Regions from separate parts of the Homo sapiens genome. Here region 1 is linked to region 2. Evidence: promoter capture Hi-C in human tissues and cell types (Jung and others, 2019). All regions are on one chromosome and are shown on one strand. The core of a region is centred on a gene start or on the middle of the fragment in contact, and the rest is flanking DNA. Distances in the headings are between cores, read along the strand shown.

What was found. The method cuts DNA at HindIII sites, captures the fragments that hold promoters and counts their contacts. A contact is called where the count stands out against the background at its distance.
Region 1: a fragment that was not itself captured here is called in contact with the fragment with the promoter of PGF in region 2 in 2 of the 25 tissues and cell types used here (IMR-90 fibroblasts and liver).

The regions. Positions count from the first base shown.
Region 1 is chr14:74,987,061-74,991,465 of GRCh38, forward strand. No RefSeq gene overlaps it. Among named protein-coding and RNA genes, the nearest start is that of EIF2B2, 14 kb to the right of the region's middle. The HindIII fragment of the contact is 5,864 bases long and covers 1-4,405 here.
Region 2 is chr14:74,953,499-74,957,971 of GRCh38, forward strand. PGF (placental growth factor) reads right to left here and starts at 2,099. Exons shown (of 7, transcript NM_002632.6): 1 at 1,670-2,099; 2 at 406-448. The coding sequence starts at 1,744. RefSeq lists silencers at 1,896-1,965, 2,146-2,245. The HindIII fragment of the contact is 10,779 bases long and covers 1-4,473 here.

The DNA.
Region 1 (4,405 bases), core at 697-3,196, 33 kb after region 2:
GTATTGAGTTTCTCCTTGTACAGGGCCTGTTTCCAGTATGCAATGTTGGTGCTTGGTATAAAGGTGCATAATAAATATTTGTTACATGTTAAATATGTTGATCTATGAAGAGCAACAATTAATACACAATCCTACTAACAATAGGGTAAGATTGTTTTTTTTTTTCTAATCACGTACCCTGGGTTCCACTACCTGTGTCTGTCATTAGACTTTCCCTTCAAATTCCTAGCAATTGGCCTGGCGCAGTGGCTCACGCCTGTAATGTTAGCACTTTGGGAGGCCGAGGCGGGTGAATCACCTGAAGTCAGGAGTTTGAGAACAGCCTGGCCAACATGTTGAAACCCCATCTCTACCAAAAATACAAAAATTAGCCGGGCGTGGTGGCGCGTGCCTGTAAATCCCAGATAGTCAAGAGGCTGAGCCAGGAGAATCACTGGAACCCAGGAGGCAGAGGTTGCAGTGAGCTGAGATTGCACCACTTCACTCCAGCCTGGGTGACGAGATCGAGACTCCTTCTCAAAAAAAACACACACACAAAAAAAACGATTCCTAGCAATTGATCATGATAAAGTGTCAGGGAAGCTCAAGAACAGAGCCAGATGCCACAAAATATAAATCTGTATTTAGAGCAAGATTAATTTCTTGTTTAGCAGAAGCAACCAAATAACACACTCCTCCCTTGACTGAAAATAGGCTTGGGCTCCTGGGAGGACACAAGAAGCTTAGGCAAGGCTCTAGCAACCCAAAAAGTTAAGCCAAAGGGGAATTTGTTGAGAAGTCCAAGGGTGGCTGTACCTTCAGCCATGGCTAGATCTAAGGGCCCATGTCAGCTCATCTCAAATCATCAGCTCATCTCAAATCATCAGCTCATTTGTTCTTTCTCCCTCTGTCTAGGACTGGGCTCTACTTGCTTCTCCTGGAGCAGCTGGCTGACTTTCTCCTACACTAGACAAGCTCTCCCCATGAGGCAGGAAAGGTAGCCACCGCTAGTCCAAAGCCAACCTCTTTACAGCAGATGAGGACAGAAACCTGCTTTCTTCCAGGGTCCATATAGCAAATCACAGGACTGAATGGCTTTGCATGACCAATCAGCGTGGAAGTTGGATGATGGACCAGTCCCAGGTGTGGGGGGCCAGGCCTGTGGTTAGGGGCCACTTGGGGCACGAGGAGGTGCTGGGATTGACAGTTCCACCCAAATCACATGAGATGAGGAAGGGCAGTTCCCAACGGAAAGCGGGTGCAGGGCAGACAAAAACAACAGGTGTCTACTACAATAGCACTTGTTCTCAGGTTGCATAGAGACATGACTTATCCACCAAAACAATCAGAGAAGGATAAAAACAGTAGTGCATTCACATGCCCAAGTGTTGAGTCAAAGGCCTTCAGGAAAAGGAAGTGATCCTATGGCCTAAAGGAGATTCTTTGGAACAGAAGGATAAAGACACAAACATTTTAGTAAGCCTTGCTGCCCCCAGTTCAGAATTATCATCATAATCACCGTATTCTCCAAATTAAGTCCAGGAAACTGTTATTTGATAATTATGCAGACAATCAGCCATAATGTTTGGAATTGGGACATTTCTGGAAAATCTGGAAGATTTGATCAACATAATCATATTTCTGGCTGAAAGAATGGGCCTGATGGATTTCTTATGTTTCTTACAAATAACTTTTACTTCTCATTATGAACGGCATATGTTAACTGTAGAAATTTTGGAAAATACAGAACAGTACACAAATAAAAATAAAAATCATTCTTGCATTTTATTAGAGTTGGGTGTGACTGCAAGTGATGGAAACTCCTAGATAACTGTGGAAGTTAAACAAGACTGAAGTTTATTTAGCTCTCAGCTGTATGAAGCCCAGAGGTGAATATTCCAGGCTGGTATGGGAGCTCCACTCCGCAGAGACCTCAGAGTGTGCAGGCTCCTTCTGGCTCACTCCTCTGCCATCCCTACAGTAGGACCTGTATCCTCATCACCTAAGCTGGCAGAGCAGAAATGCAGCAAGAAAGAGAAAGTCATGAAGAGGCCAAAGACCCATCCCAGCTATCTCCTAGGGAAGGTTCTCAAAAGCAGCAACAAAATGTTAATACTTCCACACCTTCCCATTGGTAAGAACATAGGCACATGGCCACATCTACCTGTGAAGGAGACTGGGAAATGTAGTTTCTATTCTGGGTGGCTATTTTCCCAGCTAAAACTCTATTACTATAGGAGGGGAGAGTGGCTTTGGGAGCAATTGTCTCTGATAAACCTGTAATCGTACTATCCAGAGATAGTCACTGTTAATGTCATAGTATATGTCATTATACACACTTCACACACACACACCTATATACATATATATGTATGTGTAAGAATATGTGTATTGTGTATATTTATATATATATAATACATACAAATAAAGTATATTTTTAGAGTGAAATTGAGGTCCCACCAAATATACTATTTTTACATCCTGCTTTAAAAAAATTATAGACTTTAGGCCGGGCACGGTGGCTCATGCCTGTAATCCCAGCACTTTGGGAGGCCGAGGCGGGTGGATCACGAGGTCAGGAGTTCAAGACCAGCCTGGCCAAGATGGTGAAACCCCGTCTCTACTAAAAATTCAAAAATTAGCCAGCCGTGGTGGCAAGCACCTGTAATCCCAGCTACTCAGGAAGCTGAGGCAGAGAATTGCTTAAACCCAGGAGGCGGACGTTGCAGTGAGCCGAGATTGCACCACTGCACTCCAGCCTGAGTGACAGAGCAAGACTCTGTCTTAAAAAAAATACATATAGAGAGAGACTTTAAACAGCCTCTTTCAAGATCTATTTTAGCATTGTGTCATTTAACAATTACAGCTAGAGTTACTTTAAAAATTCACTGGGCACAGTGGCTCACGCTTGTAATCCCCGTGCTTTGGGAGGCCAAGATGGGAGGATCTCTTGAAGCCAGGAGATCAAGACCAGCCTGGGGAACATAGCAAGATCCTGTCTGCACAAAAAAAAAAAAAAAAAAAAAAAAAAAAAAAAATTAGCCAGATGTGGTGGCCCACACCTGTAGCTGTAGTCCTCACTACTTGGGAGGCTGAAGGGGGAGGATCAGTTTGAGGCTACAGTAAGCTATGATTGGACCCCTGCACCCCAGCCTGGGCGACACAGTAACCCTGTCTCTTAAAAAAAAATGACCATCCCCCAAATGTAATGCTTTATAATTTTATAATTTTCTTTTAAATAGATGTTTTTATTTCATAAATCCTGGTTTTGTTTGTTTAACTATTTATTTTGAAATAATTGTAGATTCACAGGAGGTTGCAAATAAATGTATATCCTTCTCTCTCTTGCATCCTTCCCCCCAGACTACTCCAATGCTAACATTTTATACAACCATGACACAATGTCAAAACCAAGAAAATGACATTGGTACAATCCACAGAGCTTATTCAGATTTCATACATGCATTCCGTGTGTGTGTGTGTGTGTGTGTGTGTATATGCACAATTTTATCACAGGTAGTCTTGCATAACCACCACCACAATCAAGAAACCCAAGTGTACTATTAATATCACAAGATTCCTAGTGTTACTCCTTTGTAGCCACACATCCCACCCATCTGTAACTCCTGGAAGCCACTAATCTATTCTTTATTTCTATAATTATGTTATTTCATGATTGTTACATAAGTAAAGTTATGCAGTATGTACACTTTTTTTTTTTTTTGAGACAGGGTCTTGCTCTGTTACCCAGGCTGGAGTACAGTGGCGTGATCTCAGCTCACTGTGACCTCTGCCTCCCGGGTTCAAGTGATTCTTGTGCCTCAGCCTCCTGAGTAGCTGGGATTACAGGCATGTGCCACCATGCCTGGCTAATTTTTTTTTTTGTATTTTTAGTAGAAACGGGGTTTCGTCATGTTGCCCAGGCTGGTCTTGAACTCCTGGGCTCAAGTGATCTGCCTGTCCCAACATGCCAAAGTGCTGGGATTACAGGCGTGAGCCACCACTCTTGGCCTATACTTTTGAGATGGGTTTTTTTCACTCAGCATAATTTCCTTGAGGTTAGTCTAAGTTGTTGGATATATCGATATTTCATTCCTTTCTATTACCGAGCTGTATTCCATGGTATGGATGTACAGTTTGTGTAAACATTCACCAGTTGGAAGACATTGGGTAGTTTCCAGTTGTTGGCTATTATGAATAAAGCTGCCATGAACATTCACCTGCAAGTTCCTATGTAGACGTTCTTCATTTCTCTGGGATAAATCACCAAAAATACAATTGCTGGGTTGTATTATAAGTTCATTATTAGTTTTGAAAGGGACTGCCCAACTATTTTCAAGAGTGATTGTGTGCAATCCGCCTTTTAAAACTGATAATACGGCCGGGCGTGGTGGCTCACGCCTGTAATCCCAGCACTTTGGGAGGC
Region 2 (4,473 bases), core at 849-3,348:
GAGGGCCCCTCACCCATTCCTGATCCTCTTGACTGCCCACTGCATTCAGCTCCCAGACCCCCATTCTGGCCCCTGGCACTCACTCCCCACCCTGTCCTCCAAGACCCCATCCATACCCTTAAATCATGCTGGGGAAGGGCTCTGAGCCAGCTGGATGAACCCTGGCTATACTGGCCCCAGCCCCACTCTCCGTGTGCTGGTGACTCCAGCCCACACCTCTCTAGTCTCTGGGTCACCATGAGGGGATCTCTTAGGCCCTGCCAAAGTCATCACCCAGCATGTCTAGCTTGTAGGCTCTCCCCAGCTTTTATCAACCTGCACCCACGCTTCATGCCACACCTGGGCTTGGGAGAAAGGAAGAGAGGGGCTTGGGGAGCATGCGTACCCCCAGCCTGGCCAGCTTACCTTCCACCTCTGACGAGCCGTTCCCAGCAGACAAGGCCCACTGCTATGGACAGAAAAGTGCAGAGGTGAGCTGGGGGTACCTTGGAGCTCTGCACTCTTGGGCCAAGTGTGATGGCAAGAAGGTAGGGGCCCCTCTGGGTTCCTTCCCACTTGCTGCACATGCTCTGCCCTGTCTCAGAGCAGCCTGAGTACCACTAAAAACTCACTGGACCCTGGGTAGGTTAGGTCCCACCCCTCTCTGGCCTCAGTTTTCCTCATTTGGAAAAGGATGGGAGGCTAGAAGCTTTTGGAGACCCTTGGCCTGCTGCATCCCAAAGATCTTCCAATCCTGCGGGTCTGCCTTCTACCCAGCCCCCAGGCCAACCCTGCTGGGCCCTGCACAGCCCGCCTTGGCTGGGTGCCAGAGCCCAGGGGGAGGTGATCAGCTGGTGGGAGCTGAGGGGCTGGAGCGGGTGGCGCCATGAGCTGGTGCAGCCGGTAACGTTACACCTCTGGCCAGCCCTGCAGCAGGCAGGCGGGTGGCTGGGCTGCTCGGACTCCTCAGGGACTGCCCAGCCCACTCCTACTCTTGGGCTGGGGCTGGGGACTCCCAGGGCAGTGGGACAACGCAGTGGGAAGGCAGTTCATTGGCTTTGTCAGGATTTCACTGCCCAAGCTGGCTCCCAGCCAGACTCACCCGGCTCCTGGGAAAAGGGCCCTGCTCACTTCCCCAGGCCCTGCACTCAGGACCTCCGGCCACCCACCCAGGAGAAAAGGCACAGCGAGACCCCTTGTCTCGTCCCCAGCCCACCCAGGAGCCCACGGCTCAGTCCTGAGCCCTGGTGGGGGCAGGGCCAGCCTCCCCACCAACAGCTTCTTCAGCTGGCTCCTCCGCCACCCCCACCAGGCCAGGTCAGAGGTCCTGGGGACGCCTGGTTGGCCATGGGGCCTCGACCCTGACCACAAGGCCAGGGACCCGCCTGGGATTAGTGGACAGATGCTTTTAGCAAAGCCACCAGGGCTCCAGGGGCCAGACAGGAAACCTCCCTCCCTCCCTCCCTCCCTGTGGCTTCCCTGCCCCCACCAAGACAGCCCCCAGGACCTGGGGGACAGCCAGCCTGAGGTCTCTTCCCAAACGAAAGAAGTCCAGCCTGGCCTTTAGGAAGTGTGTGGACATCCTTGGAGTTGCTGCTCCCTGGAGTGGGTCTGTGATTTCAGAGTCCCATGCTTCCAGTGCTGGGATGGGGAGGTCTGGGGAGCCAGGCTAGGTGGGGGTAGCTCTTACCTGGGGGGGCACAGCAGGCAGCGCCAGCCCGGCCAGGAGCTGCAGGAAGCAAGGGAACAGCCTCATGACCGGCATCTTCTCAGACGTCCCGAGCCAGGGGGCTCCGAGGGAAAACCACCATGCTCATCCCCCGGGGAGCCCCTGGCACAGGAGGAGAAGAGCTGAGTGGGGGGCTGGACGCCTCCCTCACTGCTGCCCCGAGGCCCCGGCCGGTGGTTCGAGCATCTTCTGGAAGCCTTGCGGAGTCAGGAGCCCGTAGGTAAGGCTGTGGCTGGGGAACCCGACGGGGAGCGGCCCGGCGGGGCGGGGCGCCGAGGGGCAGGCGGGTCCCGGGGATGGTCCGTCGGGCGCCCAGTGCCACTCCAGGTCCTCCCGTAGCTGGGCGGCCGTCCGTCGATGCAGTTTCCTCCGCAGACAGCAGCTCCCTTCTGAGACTGCAGCCGGTCCGCGCCTGGGTTTCAGGGACTGAGCCGGGGCGGGGCTCCGGGCCGGCCCCGCCCACCGCAGACGAGGTTCCCGAGCCGAGTTCCCGGAGCGCCCGGTCAGCCCGCAGCGCCCGGCCAGCCCGCAGCGCCGGAGCCCGCAGTGCGTGCGAGGGGCTCTCGGCAGGTCCAGACGCCTCGCCGAGCCCAGCCCGCAGCTCCCCGGGCCGCGCCGCGCCCGCCCACAGGGCCCACAGCCCTGCTTCGGCTCTCAGGGCGGTCACCTGGGATGGGGGCATCCAGGAGTCCAGCGTCAGCCGTCAAGGCTCATGATCTAACCGCCTCTGCAGGAAGGGCCGTCCGGGATGCCTGGGAAGGCAGCCATGCCCACACCCCTAGGGGGCCAAGGGATTCCTAGCCAGGTTATATAGATGAAGAAACCGAGGCTCCGAGAGCACCCCTGCCTGCATATGTCGAATGGACATAGGCATTCTTGGAAAGTGTGTGTGTGTTGTGTGTGTGCGCGCATCTGTGTGTCCGAGGAACTGGCAGAGACAAAACCCAAGCCTACGTGACTCCAGAACTCTAACCCGACCTACCACCCTCCTAGCCAGGCACGGACACAGTGGGCCTCCCACAGGAAACCTCTCAGGGCACCTGGCTGGAGGATCAGGCCTGTTGCCTCCTTGGGAAGCAGTCTTCCCAGGCCCTCCCTGCGGGGCAGCCCCCTGTGGTAGAGAGTGGTCTCACTCAGGCATCTCCTCCTGGTCCCTGGCCGAGGAGGAACTGTACGCTGCGCGGGGGTCTGTGTGCATCTGCGCGTGTGCATGGGCATTTGCGGGTCTGTGAATATCCATGAGCGGTGCATCTGAGCCTCTGTGTGGTCTGAGTACGTGTGACTACTGTACCTCCAAATACGCCTCTGTGTGGGGGTCAGGTCTCTCTGTATCTCTGTATGCTTGTGTGATCTGTTCGTGTCCGCTGTGTATCTGGGTGTGTTTGGAAGTGTCTGAATGTGTATCTTTCGGTGGGACTGTGAGTCTGCACGCCTGCCTGTCTCTGCGTGTGTGTGTCTGTCTCTGTGGGTGAAGACTGTGCCTCTCTCTCTGCGTTTGTGTGTGCCCTCCCTTGGTTCTGGATCTTTCTTTACCACCACTCCTCTCACTGCCTTCTGTGTCCAGCTCCCAGGCTGCAGGAACCTGGCAGGACTGGGAGTCACGAGTTGGCTGGGCCTGGGGCTGGTGGGTGGCTGTGGGGGAGGAGCGAGGCCTGGGAAGTGGCCCCTACAGCTCACATTCCAGCCAAGAGCAGGGAGGCCAGGGCAGCCCCAGCTCTCACCCCAGTGACCTCTGCGTCCACTGCCTGCCTGCCTGCCCACCCACGAGGGGCTGCCAGAGATGCAGCCTGCCTGCCTGGCCGGCCCTAAGCCTGGAGGTTCAGGAGGCGGGGGCCAGTCACCAGCTGGCTAAGCGGGGTCTGCAAGGAACATCCTGACGAGCTTCAAACAAGCTGGGGTTCGTGGGGTAGACAAACTGCTTCCTGGGCCCAGAATCATTGTGGAGGGTCACTGTGCATGTGTGTGAGGGTGAGTAGGTGTGTGTTTGTGCATATATGTATTGTATATGTTGCCCATAACATCTTTGTATACATACACGTGTTTGTGTGTGTCTTTAGTTTGGGTATGGATTTGTGTATGTGGGCACAGGTGTGTATTGTGCACAAGTGTGTGCGCGTGTGCTTAAGTATCTTCATTGTATATGCTTGTCTATAACTGAGTGTTTCTAGCACTTATGCATGGGATGTGTCTATTGTGTATGAGTTTGTATTTTTTTTTTTTTTTTCTGAGACAGAGTCTTGCTCTGTCGCCTAGGCTGGTAGACAGTGGCGCAATCTCGGCTCACTGCAACATCTGCCTCATGGGTTCAAGCGATTCTTGTGCCTCAGCCTCCCAAGTAGCTGGGATTGCAGGTGTACACCACCATGCCTGGCTAATTTTTGTATTTTTAGTAGAGACAGGTTTTTGTCATGTTGGCCAGACTGGTCGAGAACTCCTGGTCTCAAGTGATCCACCCACCTCAGTCTCCCAAAGTGCTGGGATTACAGGTGTGAGCCACCGCGCCCAGCCTGTATTCATTAATTTGTTTTTTCATTTGGCATGTATTGCCTGAGCCCTGCTATGCTCCAGGAACTGCTCTAGGTGCTAGGGATATGATATGGAGGGTCTCTCTGAGTTTACATTCATGGAGTAGGGGGATACCGATGGCTGGGGATGCCGAAGTTCTCTTTCCTGAGTGAACTCAACACCTTGGGCGAAGTCTGTGGTTCCCACAAGTGCACCTCAGTCCTTCATCACTAAATTGGGGACCATACCCTTCTAAACCC